Linked DNA regions of Homo sapiens: region 1 is linked to region 2. Evidence: promoter capture Hi-C in human tissues and cell types (Jung and others, 2019). All regions are on one chromosome and are shown on one strand. The core of a region is centred on a gene start or on the middle of the fragment in contact, and the rest is flanking DNA. Distances in the headings are between cores, read along the strand shown.

Region 1 (5,885 bases), core at 985-3,484, 44 kb before region 2:
TAAGGTGGGAGGAATGCTTCAGCCCAGGAGGCAGAGGTTGCAGTGAGCTGAGAAAACACCATTGCACTCCAGCCTGGGCGACAGAGTAAGACCCTGTCTCAAAAAATAATAATAATAAAATAAATGCGAAGGGTAGTGGGTATGCATGCGGACGAGGCAGCATGGGCTGATGGTGTAGAAGCTGTGTGATAGATACAAGAAGGTTCATTTTACTCTTTTCACAACTTTTGTGTATGTTCTCAGTTTTCCATATTACAAAGTTCTTTTAAAAAACCTGTTGAGGAACTGGAAGAAAATGTTAAGAGAAAAGTCTAGCTTGCTTTTAAATAAAAAGGTTCAATGATTTTTTTTTTACTTCAAATTAATCTATAAACTCAATGTAAACCCAATTAAAATACCAACAAGGAGTATTTTTAGAAAGCTCCTCTGGAAAAATAACCATAATAGCCAGCAAAATTAGGAAAGAGAAGGGGGTCAAGCGGGTAGGGCAGAGAACGCCTGCTCTTACAAGCATTGAAACTTATAAAGCTACAATAATGAAAGGAATTTAGTAATGGAGAACAAACAGAGAGGGCAATGGTGCAACATGAAATTCCAGAAATAGGCTCCAGTGCCTGCTAGGTGCCAGGCACTATTCAACATGTTGAATAATTGGCACCAAGCAAAACAGATAAAGATTCTACCCTTAAATAAGTAAATAAATAAGAACATCTACATAGTGCCAAGTGTTTTAGAGAAAATAAAGCAAGACAATGAGATAAAGGGCAACGGGGGTGACATGAGTTGAGACCTAAAAACTAGCATAACACAGATGATCTAGGACAAGGGAAAAGCATTCTAGGCAAAGGAAGAGGCAAGAGCAAGACCCTAAGGTTGAAATGAGTTCACACATCACGAAACAAAAAGCAGGTTGTGGGTAACAGAGAAGAGGCAAGGAAGATAGGCAGGGGCTAGATTATATAAACCTTGCAGTGGCTGGTGAGGACTATGAATTCTATTCTAATTGAGATGGAAAACACTTTAAAGGGTTTTAGTTTGCAGAGCGATGTATCTGTTTAACATCTAAAAAAAAAAAAAACTGCTCTAGCTACTATGTAGACAGAGGGTTCTATACCAACAAGAATATTCTGGAAATGCACTTCCAGTTTGCAATGGTCTACCCAAGAGGTGATGTTGGGATAAAAGAGGTAGAAGTGACAGGAATGGTGACAAGTGGTCTGGTTTGAAATATGGCTTTAACACAGTGCCAGTATACTGATGGCTTAGAAGTGGAGAAAAAGAAAGGAATCCAGGATGACTCCCATTGCTTTGGTCAAAGTAACTGGGTAGATGATGGCACCATCAATCAAGAAAGAGAAGATGAGCAGGGGCCATGGGACAGTAAATCAAGGACTCTACTGTCATATCCATCCATCACTTGAGACACCTATCAGACACCCAAGTAGGACTGTCAGTAGGCAGGTGGCTGCTACAGGAGGATGGAGCTCACCTGTAAATTTGTACGGGGGCATCAGCAAAAGATACAATGAAGACAGCATTTCAGATCTACAGGGAAAATAGATCTGTAGGGATCCTTTGATAACTGGTGTTGAGGCAATTGCCTTTGCTTTTGGGGAAAAACACTCAAGTTCCCAAATAACTTCCAAATGGATCAAAAATTAAAAAAAAAATACTGGTGAGTCTATGTGGCAAATGGCTCTCCCACACTCTTGGTGGGAGTGTAAATTTGTGCAACCTTTCTTAGGGACAATATGGCACTGGGTATCAAATTTAAAATACATATTGACTTTGTTCCAGTAATCCTACTACTTGGATTAATTTATTCAACAGATATACATACGAGAATTTCCTGGGATGTAGGTACAAGGATGTCCGCTGCAGACTCTTTGCAGTAAAAAATTAGAAACAAGCAAAGCCTGCCTCAACAGCAGACTGGTTAAATAAATTATCAAACGTCCATAAGACAGACTACTTTGCAGAGGATACAAAAAATGCAGGAAACCTTTATGAGCTGATATCAAACTATCTCCCAGGCACGTTATGTGAAAAATTAGCAAACAGAACTTCTTGTGCTTTATTATCCTTCTATGTAAATGTATGAGTGTCCATGTACAAAGTCTTTTGATTTTCATCTTTTATCATTCCCAAAGTAGTTTGAATTTTGTAACCATGTACATATTTTCCATTTAAAAAAACCAGTAGGGACTATTTGAACGGTGAAATTATGGGTCACCTTTTTGTTTTCTTTATACTTCTTGGAATGTATTTTTTTAAAGCACCCTTACAAATATTACTAGAAAATAAAACTTCAAAGAATATGATCCCACATCCCCACTAAGACTGTGGACAAATCACTTTAAATCTACAGGACAATCTTATGACCTTCTTTTCTAATTCGTTTTCTTTTCTTTCTTTCTTTTTTTTTTTTTTTTTTAACATTCTGATCTCACTGAGATTTTGTACCTTCAGGCTCTGTTGGAAGCAGCCTGTACCCAAAGCCAAGCTGTAAAAGTTGCAGGGGAGCCACAGAGCTGCCAAGGAGGGTGTTTAATGAGCAAAACTTAAGGGCCGAATGCAAATTACTAGCAAACACCAGATGGCAGGGGTCAGGGGGAGATGGCCTCAAAGAGATAAAGTCAGAGTACTGGTCAGGTCCAGAGAAAAATGACTCCCATCTGACTTGGGGGCGGTGAGAGTGTCACGGGGTTCACACAGCTGGTGTGCACACTCCCCATGATCGGGAGAAGGGGTCTTTCTGCGTAAGCTTATGGCTGGAAAGTCAGGGGAAAGGGAGGGGTGGAGGATACAAAAGGTACAAGGTAGCTTGTGGTGGAAATGGAGCGTCTTGGTCTACGTAAAAATTCACCTGCAGGGCTTTTGAGGGTTAGCTGTCCTGAAATCCCAAAATGTGTAAACCATGTACACACACACACACACACACACACACACACACACACACACACACACACAGCCGAAAGACTGAGAATGCGCTAGTTCTATTTAATCTTGGAGGAGAAAATTAACAGAGTTCAATTAAACCATTATTAAGAACTTTAAATGGGGATTAGTGCTTATTTTCACATTTCTTTAACCTTTAAAATTACACTCTTATTTAAATACAAAGTTAATAGTATTGGATTGTGCTGGCCTTATTTGTTGTAATGAAGCCTTGTTCTTAATTGGAAAGCAAGAATGTACCATTCCACTTCTCCCAATTAACCACCTTTATTGGAAGCCAGGCTTCCGGAAACACAAAGCTATCAACTAAGGCACCGACATTCTCCCGGGGGACAGTTTGCCCTAACCACGGACTTGAAAGAAAGAAAACTGTTCATATTGGCCTTGCACACCCAAACTTAAAACAGACCACAGACACGAGAGTGTCCAATTCAAACACTGACCCCTGCCTAAGCCCCTCTGCGAAGCTTGTGTAGTAGCTCTCCCCCTCCCCGTGGGTCCTCCAGGAAACACACAGCAGCTGCTTCAGACCATCATTGCTACCCTCGCTCTCGCCTCTAGTTTAACCAGCCCCAGTTCCTTTAAACTCGCCACTTGGGTCTAATTTTCCAATCATATAATTATATCTATCTATGCGTCTTAGGGAGAAGAAAGAATGCGATGTTCCAAAAAAAATTACAGCCCTCTTTTGGTCCTATACTATGCATTTTCCGCTTCTGGTAAGGAATCTAAGCTATGCCACTACAATATATTTAGTTGGAGTAAACTCCTCTCCAGCATTCCTTCTTTTAAACGTATTATTCCTTTCTTAGGAGAAACTAGCTCAAGGGAGCTGGGGGTATTTAAATGGAGTCTCTATGGTCACCAAAAGCATCACATGCCCTGAGAGCAAACACAGTTGCTAAAATCAGCTTGTCAGTATCTTCAAACTCTCATTTAACTTGTCTTAAGGTAAACTTTTTATTATAAGAACTAACTTTTGAGAAGTTTTATAGTTTCGAAAACTCTTCCACATAGCATTTTGTGATCCAATATGGTAGGAGAGGTGTTGACAGGAAGATAGACATAGACACATACGCACATATTATATATATTATATTATACATATATAATGTGTATATGTATATGAGGAACCTATACATATGTATAGGCTCACGCCTGTAATCCTAGCACTTTGAGAGGCCGAGGTTGGTGGATTACTTGAGGTCAGGAGTTCAAGACCAGCCAGACCAACATGGCGAAACCTCGTCTCTACTAAAAATACAAAGAATTAGCTGGGTATGGTGACACATGCCTGTAATCCCAGCTGCTCGGGAAGCTGAGGCATGAGAATTGCTTGAACCTGGGAGGCGGGGGTTGCAGTGAGCCGAGATTGTGCCACTGGACTCCAGCCAGGACAACAAGGTGAGACTCTGTCTCAACAAAACAAAGTAAAAACAAAAACAAATAAAACATGTTATAAGTATTGATGAATCAACAGTCATAAGCCTTTAATGTTCATTACATGTTGAAAGAAAAAAACAGTAATTTTCCATCCAAGTTGCAGCCCCATATTCAGAAGCATTTAGTGATATCTGGCAATGGTCTCCATTCATGGAAAAAGCAAAATTATTTGCATATATGGTGGGAATTATTTTACAGGTGTTGACTTGAGGACAAGAAAGTTGGGTGGGGGTAGGTGGGGGGATCTTGGGAAGGAATTCAGATCTGGCCAGTCCCCAGAATGGGTGTCCACAGTCAGCAATTGTCCGAGGGGCAAGGCCGTATAGGGAAGCACAAGCTAGATCTGCGGCCGTTGCTGTGGGGCAGGCATCTCTCAGAGCTGCAGGGAAAAAGCTGCTGGGCTGGGCAGAGGTTCCGTGCACCCACAACAGGAAGCATCTACAAATCCAGCAGGGCCTGGCGCCCGGTCAGGGATTTCAAGGACAAGCCGGCATCATTTCCAGAGGGCAGTGGAATAATTAAGCTCGCACGTCCTGACGAGAAGGCTGGCAGGTCTGGCTGCAGAGCCACAACAAGCCTGTTTCTGGCTGCCTGAAATGTGTTCACCACCAGGGTCTGGCCACAGAAACGGGAGCCACATGCAGGTCGATTCCAGCCCCTCAAGGCAGCAGAGGAAGACTTAGCTTCCTGAGGCTGGCATAAATGAGGAGTATTTTTTTTTTAAATTGGCTTCCCAAGTGCGAAGTTCCTCCTCAAATCTTAGGAGGCTGAATCCCACAGCCAGCCATCCTCACCTCTCATTAGCAGTTGGTCTCGGAAATTTTATTTGAGCCCAGAACCCTTCTAATTTCCTCTCTGATCAGATAGATGGATGGAAGTCTTTCTTTTGCAATGTCTACCAAGCAAAAGTTTGCCATTTCCCCACCGGCTCCATCCTTCCATCTGACAAGAGCCTTTCTGTGAAGGGAAGCTTAGAGTCACCATCAGACTTGTCCCCTAGGACCCAGGCAGATCCTTGTGACAATCAGCCGAGGGCCTTGTCCTCCCCGAGCCCACCGTCCATTCAGTTTTCTGGTGACACCTACTCCATCCATGAATGAATTAAAGAGCAAATGAATGAGTGAGGACTTGACAAGACTTCTCAATCATTTCATGAATGCGAGGCATTATAAATATAAAATAATTCCATATCAGATATCCAAGAAAAATGCTCTAGAAGATGCATTTAAACCTTTTGGAGCTAAACATTTTGAGGACTGTGGTGTTCGAAGATTTGACAAAATTCTACAAACTGTGTGCTTTTATGTAAGTTTAGGCATTCCACAGACACTTGGAAGGTGAGTTTAATAACCCTAGGTTTACATAGTCTCAATACTACAGGATCTAAGAAACTTAACCTCCAGGGGGAACCTTCAAAAATCTGATATTCAGGCCAGGCATGGTGGCTCATGCCTGTAATCCCAGCACTTTTGGGAGGCTGAGGC
Region 2 (5,561 bases), core at 2,058-4,557:
TCTATCAGTGGCCTTTTCCTATCATCCTTCTGGGGATGGGCGTCTCTGAGACATCCCTGCCTCTCCACTTGTCTGCTAACCTCTCTCATGGGCTTGTCTGCATAGCTCTTCCTGTCCTTGAAACTCAACTCTGACCTCAGCATCCTCCCTGGTGCTGCGGGGATGTGTCTGAGGGCAGAAGAAAGAAGCTGAAAACTTGAGTCTCTAAGTCTGTCTTCTTAAAGAGATTCAGCCTCTCTTTGGATTTGCTCCTGACCTTTTGTGGGTTCATCTTTGGAATTTGTCCCCTTGTGGATGGTGCAGTAGGAGAGACCTTCCAACAGAGATGCCCCCACCACCATGGTCCGAGTCACTTAGGCCCACATGATCAAAGGCAAGGGGGTATCCACAGCTCTGTGTTATCTTGTTCAGCTCACCAGGCCTGGAGCCTCTGGGAGAGGGTTTCCACAACACCCTACAGTATGATCAGCCGGGGGTAGTGGGGTCTGGGGTGTTCCCTCTGCCTCTTTTCCTGTCTAACCTGAGGAAGTTGATTAGCAACTGTTCCAGGCCTTATCTGGGTATGAAAAAAATAAGGCCCTAAAGAAACACACCCAGGGCAGCATGGTGAGTGTGCTAAAGGGTTGTGTAGGAGCAGAACGAGGGGCCAGGTTGGGCGCAGTGACTCATGCCTCTAATTCCAGCACGTTGGGAGACCAAGACACCAGGATCACTTGAGCCCAGGAGTTCGAGACCAGCATAAGCAACATGGTGAAACCCATCTCCACAAAAAACACAAAAATTATCTGGTTGTGGTAACACACACCTGTGATCCCAGTTACTCAGGAGGCTGAGGTGGGAGGATTGCTTGAGTCTGGGCAACAATGAGACCCAGTCTCAAAAAAAAAAAATATCTCACACATCTCCCTACTATCTGGAGAACTAAGTTCCTCTGAGTCCTTAGTTCCTCTGAGTCCTTAGTTCCTCTGAGTCCTTAGCACTGAGTCCTAACTCAGGATCAACCTCTCGACTTCTACCTAAGAGCTCCTCCACAAAGCCTTTCAGATCCTCTCTGGCAAAAGTGACTTCTTTTTCCTCCATACTCCCAAAATGTTTTATTTGGACCACTCTTCAGGTACTTTACTCACTTAATTATCTCTTCACTCCTTCATCCAATAAACACATGGCGTCTACTACATGCAGCATGTGCACTGGTCTGCACCATAGTGCTTAGCAGGCTTCTCTCCCTTCTCCTGCTGGACAGAAACTGACAAACTGACAGCAGCGAGGGAGCATCTTTCATCTAAGCATATCCTGGAACCTCGAAGCCTCCTCAGCCTCCAGCACAGCAAACCACAGGTATTCCAAAAATAAAATGATTGAAATGAACAGAGAAATTATCATAAGTTTCCTTAAATAGTAAACTGCCATAAAGTACATGCAAAATCAATTTCAGCGATAGATTTAAAGTATAATTCAATATTTTTCCAGGAGCATATTAACTATGTCAAGGTAGGTACATTTATATACTTTACATGGTTCTGATTTTTCCTCTCCTAGCACCTGCCACCCCCCTACTCCTACACCTAACCCCCGCAACACACACACTCACTCACACAACTAGGTGGTTATTATAGGAGCAGAAGCTCTGGGCCCATCCTAATGGAAGAAGGAATTCATGAAGCCAGAACCACCACCTACAGCCAGGGGTGTGTTCTGAGACATTCTCTTCTGCCCCCACAAGCAGCACTCCCACTTCACACCTGCCAACCTGTACCTATCTGGCCACCACCCAGAAGTCACAACCCACAAAAGCTGGCCCAGTAGAGATGCCAGGCCCCTAAAGCCCTCCAGTGTTCAGAGACCCCACTGGAGAACAGGCCCTGAAGGTCCAGGGGGTCTCTCTGCAAGGACAGATCAGGGCATCACTTACTGCAGCCACTCAGCAACCACTTCCAGTAGTTTCATTGCGATTTGTCAAGGCAAACATATCCACCTACCCTACCTTTGGTGGAGGCAAGAGGTTAGGCCAGCTGCAGGGGACAGACTCAGACTCAGCTCCATCCCCCAACACTGCCCAACGGCCAGTCCCAGGGCAGGTCTGGAGCTCTGGAATGCCCTCGTGCCTGCCATTCCAGTCTCTGCGACCAGCCCATGCCAGACCTTGTCCTCTTCCCACTCCAGTGTCCCTTATCAAGGTCTCTGCATAGATTTGGGCTGCCGAGGACAGCTTCTGGCAAACTCCTGCCAGGGGTCCTGGACCCTCCTGCTGCTGAATTCAGCCTTGCGCTTTAATGGATTTTCCAAATAGCGGGGACCACAGGCAGCTCAAAGACTTAAAACACAAACGCAAACCCGAGGGAGGGAGAGAGGAACAGAGGGAGGGAGAAACCAGATTTTAGGAGAAACTCGACTTCAGAGAGAGAGCAGGATTTCCCTATCACTATGTTCCCCATCTCCCCGGCAGACGCCAATAACCGGCCCTAAGATGCCCTTGATCTTTGCGCGCCCCCTGCATTCCCTCGCCCCGCGTCTAACGTCTCATCTGGGCAAAGAGGCGGGGGTTGAGAGATGAAACAAGCCCGAGGGAGGATGGTCCCCAAGACATTACCTGAGGCCGGAGTACCTGAGTACCTCCACTCCTGTCGGAGGAAGGGACCAGAAGACGGCCCAGGGATGGGGACCCGGGATGCGCGCCCGAGCAGGAGGTCCCGGCCCTGTCTTGAGTACCCCCGGCAGTGCGTCTCCGGTTGTCCCGCTGTCTCGGTCCCGCTCTGTCTAGCCCCCTCCCCTGGGCTGCGCCCTCCCCGTCCCCGGCCGGATGCTAGAGGAGTTTGCGCCGCCCAACGTGGGACCCCGGTTCGGCGTCCTCACTCCCCGCCCTGCCAGGGCTGGGATTCCCGCACCCGGATTTGTAGCTAAACTTTCCTGGGCACACACGGTCTCGGGGGTGCCGGGCCTCCCCCATCCCCTGCCCACCCGGAGCCGCGCGTCCCGGCTGCAGCGGGACGGTCGCTTCACCTGCTCGCGGCTTGGCCGAGGCTCCCGCGGCTTCCTCGCGCGTCCAGACCCAGGCGCCGCCCGGCGGGTCCCCGCGCAGCTGCCGCCACCGCGGCCACCACCGGTGCCGCCGCCGCGCCTGCCCCGAGCTGCAGAGCCGCGGTTCGCCGGCAGCCGCGGGAGGCGCAATCCCGGTGCCTTGGGTTCGGCCTGCGGCTCCTCGGCTGCCTGCAGCCGCCGCCCCGCCGCGTCCCGCTGCCCGGGGCCGGCACGCACCGGCGCTGGGGTCCGCTCCTCGCCTCGCTGCGCAGGGGATCCGCCGAGCCTCCAGGATGGGCGGGGATTCCCTCCCCCTGGTTGATTCGAGGGGCGGGAACTCCCTTCCCCGAGTGACAGGGACGGGGGGCGGGGATTCCCCTGCAGGAATAACAAGGTGGGCGGGGATTTCCCCGAGCGAGCCCCGCCGCGGGCAAGGCGTCTCTCTGGGTGAGCCAGGAGTCCTGGTGCGCCCGCTTCAGAAACCTGGGGATCGTGGGAGGAAGGCATCCAGGGAGATGGCTGCTCCGAATCTCCATACAGGCGGGGCTTAGGGCGCCATCTAGGTGGAACAGAGCGAGCTAGGGGACGTGAAGTTGCCTCTGCATAGCACTTTACACAGCAAAGAGAAAAATGTCAGTTACCTTATCAAAGAATGGGGCGGAGGGGCCACAGGAGATGGGGGAAGAGCTAACCACTCACCCCAAGCTACCCTTAGCCTCTGGTCCTTGGGATACCAAAGGTAATTTAGCACTGGTACGAGGATTTCGGGGAGAGGGGACCTCTTGGCACCTCAGAGCTGCTTAATCCCCCAGTTAAGCCCCTGGGGGGGAATCCCATGGCCCTGGGGTGGTGGTTTTGGTCCCATGAGCACTAGCCACGAGCTCCTGCCGAGTGGACTGTGAGAGCTAATGCCAGCCGCCCTTGGCTCCCGTCCAGGTCACTCGAGGAACCGAGCCTCAGGCTTTTGGGATCCTTCATTCCGGTGGATTTTCAGGAAGGCCTTCAAATATTTTTGGTTCTTTTTTTGTCATCCTTGTCATTCTGCCTACCAAAGGGAGAGGATGATAAGAACATAATAGGAAGACTGCACAGCTCTGCAAATTAAGCTCTCTTAAGAGGAAAAAGCTGGTCTTTTTCAAGTGCTGGCAGATAAGAGTAAAAACATATGAAAAATTGCAAAACCTGGGATAATGAATAGTTGAATAATGCTTTTGACATTTTCTACAGAACAGTAATTGGAAATCTTTGCTTTCGGGGGGATGGGGATGGGACAGGGCAGGCCCCAGCTGCAGTTCTGCCCAGCAAGGCAATAAACTCTGGCCTCTCCGAAAAGCAGGCAGACATAAATCACCTGCGCAGACCGGACAGCGCTGTCCCACCACACCAGAGACCAGAGTGGGCCCAAGGCATTTGGAGGTGGTATTGTCCTCAGGGGCTGGGGTGGAGAAGTTCTTGATTTCAGCTGTTCTTCAGCTTTTATAATTACCAGGCCATTGAGATCAATGCTTGCACAAATCCAAGCATCGTATATGACAAGCTGGGCACTCAGGCACTCAGAGCTTCTCTTCCTATGTGTAAATAGAGAAAACACCTACCATGCAGGATTGCTGGAACTAGCAGTAACACAGCTATTCAGCACAGCACTTAGGAGGTGCTCAATGAAATGGTAACCATTATCAATGAAAGGTATCATTGGGACACTACAAAAAAATCCTTCTAGAAGGATCAAACAGGGCTGGTGCTTTCTGTTTTTTCCACAATCCCAGGCCCATCTTCCACCACTCTGTCCCGTGTTTTCTCAGCCTCTGTACCCAGCACATACCTTGGGCCTACCTCCCTCAGCACCAATGAAAAGTTTGCTGAATCAATGAATATGCAAATAAATGTATCACTCAAACTGTAGTCACTGCTATTTCTTATCCACTCCATCCCCAACTCTTTCATTCCAGCCATGTACTCCTAATCTGTAAATTCTGTTTCCTCTGCCAGAGTGACATTCTCACTCTCCTGTGTCTGCTGAAATCCCAAGGAGGTAAATGTCATCTCTACTGGAAAGGCTTCTCTGATCATCAGAACAAACATCACGTTTCCTCTGCCTTGTTAATTGCTGCAATGGTAGCACTTTATGCAAATTGCTCATCTAACCCTTGTCAGGTGTATTATGTTGTAGGAATTATGGCGTTTTGTCTCACATATTTCTAGCTTGTGAGTTCTTGGAGGTAAGAGAACTTAAAGCTTATTGTTTGTGTTCCCAAAGCCTAGGGTGGCATGGTGTCCGACCCAATAGCCACTCAATAAATATTTGCTGAATTAAAATGAATTGTTAGGTATATACATGTATGTTATATGTGGCATATATTATGTATAAATACAATATATACAGATGTATTTTATAATCTGTCTCCTTCAGACATGGCCCTGCTGACCTGCTTTAAATACTTCGTTTCAATCACTTTTCAGCTGATATTTTCCAGATATTTTTGGCAAGTTCTTATCTGCTAATAATAGCTCAATTCACAGAGGTCAATCAAATGCATGGAAAT

The links. The method cuts DNA at HindIII sites, captures the fragments that hold promoters and counts their contacts. A contact is called where the count stands out against the background at its distance.
Region 1: a fragment that was not itself captured here is called in contact with the fragment with the promoter of PDZD2 in region 2 in 2 of the 25 tissues and cell types used here (dorsolateral prefrontal cortex and pancreas).

Annotation. Positions count from the first base shown.
Region 1 is chr5:31,679,757-31,685,641 of GRCh38, reverse strand. All of the region lies in intron 1 of PDZD2 (PDZ domain containing 2), which reads right to left. Among named protein-coding and RNA genes, the nearest start is that of PDZD2, 44 kb to the right of the region's middle. RefSeq lists enhancers at 4,380-4,897, 4,898-5,416. The HindIII fragment of the contact is 4,329 bases long and covers 70-4,398 here.
Region 2 is chr5:31,636,877-31,642,437 of GRCh38, reverse strand. It overlaps PDZD2 (PDZ domain containing 2), which reads right to left and starts at 3,307. Exons shown (of 25, transcript NM_178140.4): 1 at 3,001-3,307. RefSeq lists a silencer at 3,004-3,353. The HindIII fragment of the contact is 21,895 bases long and covers 1-5,561 here.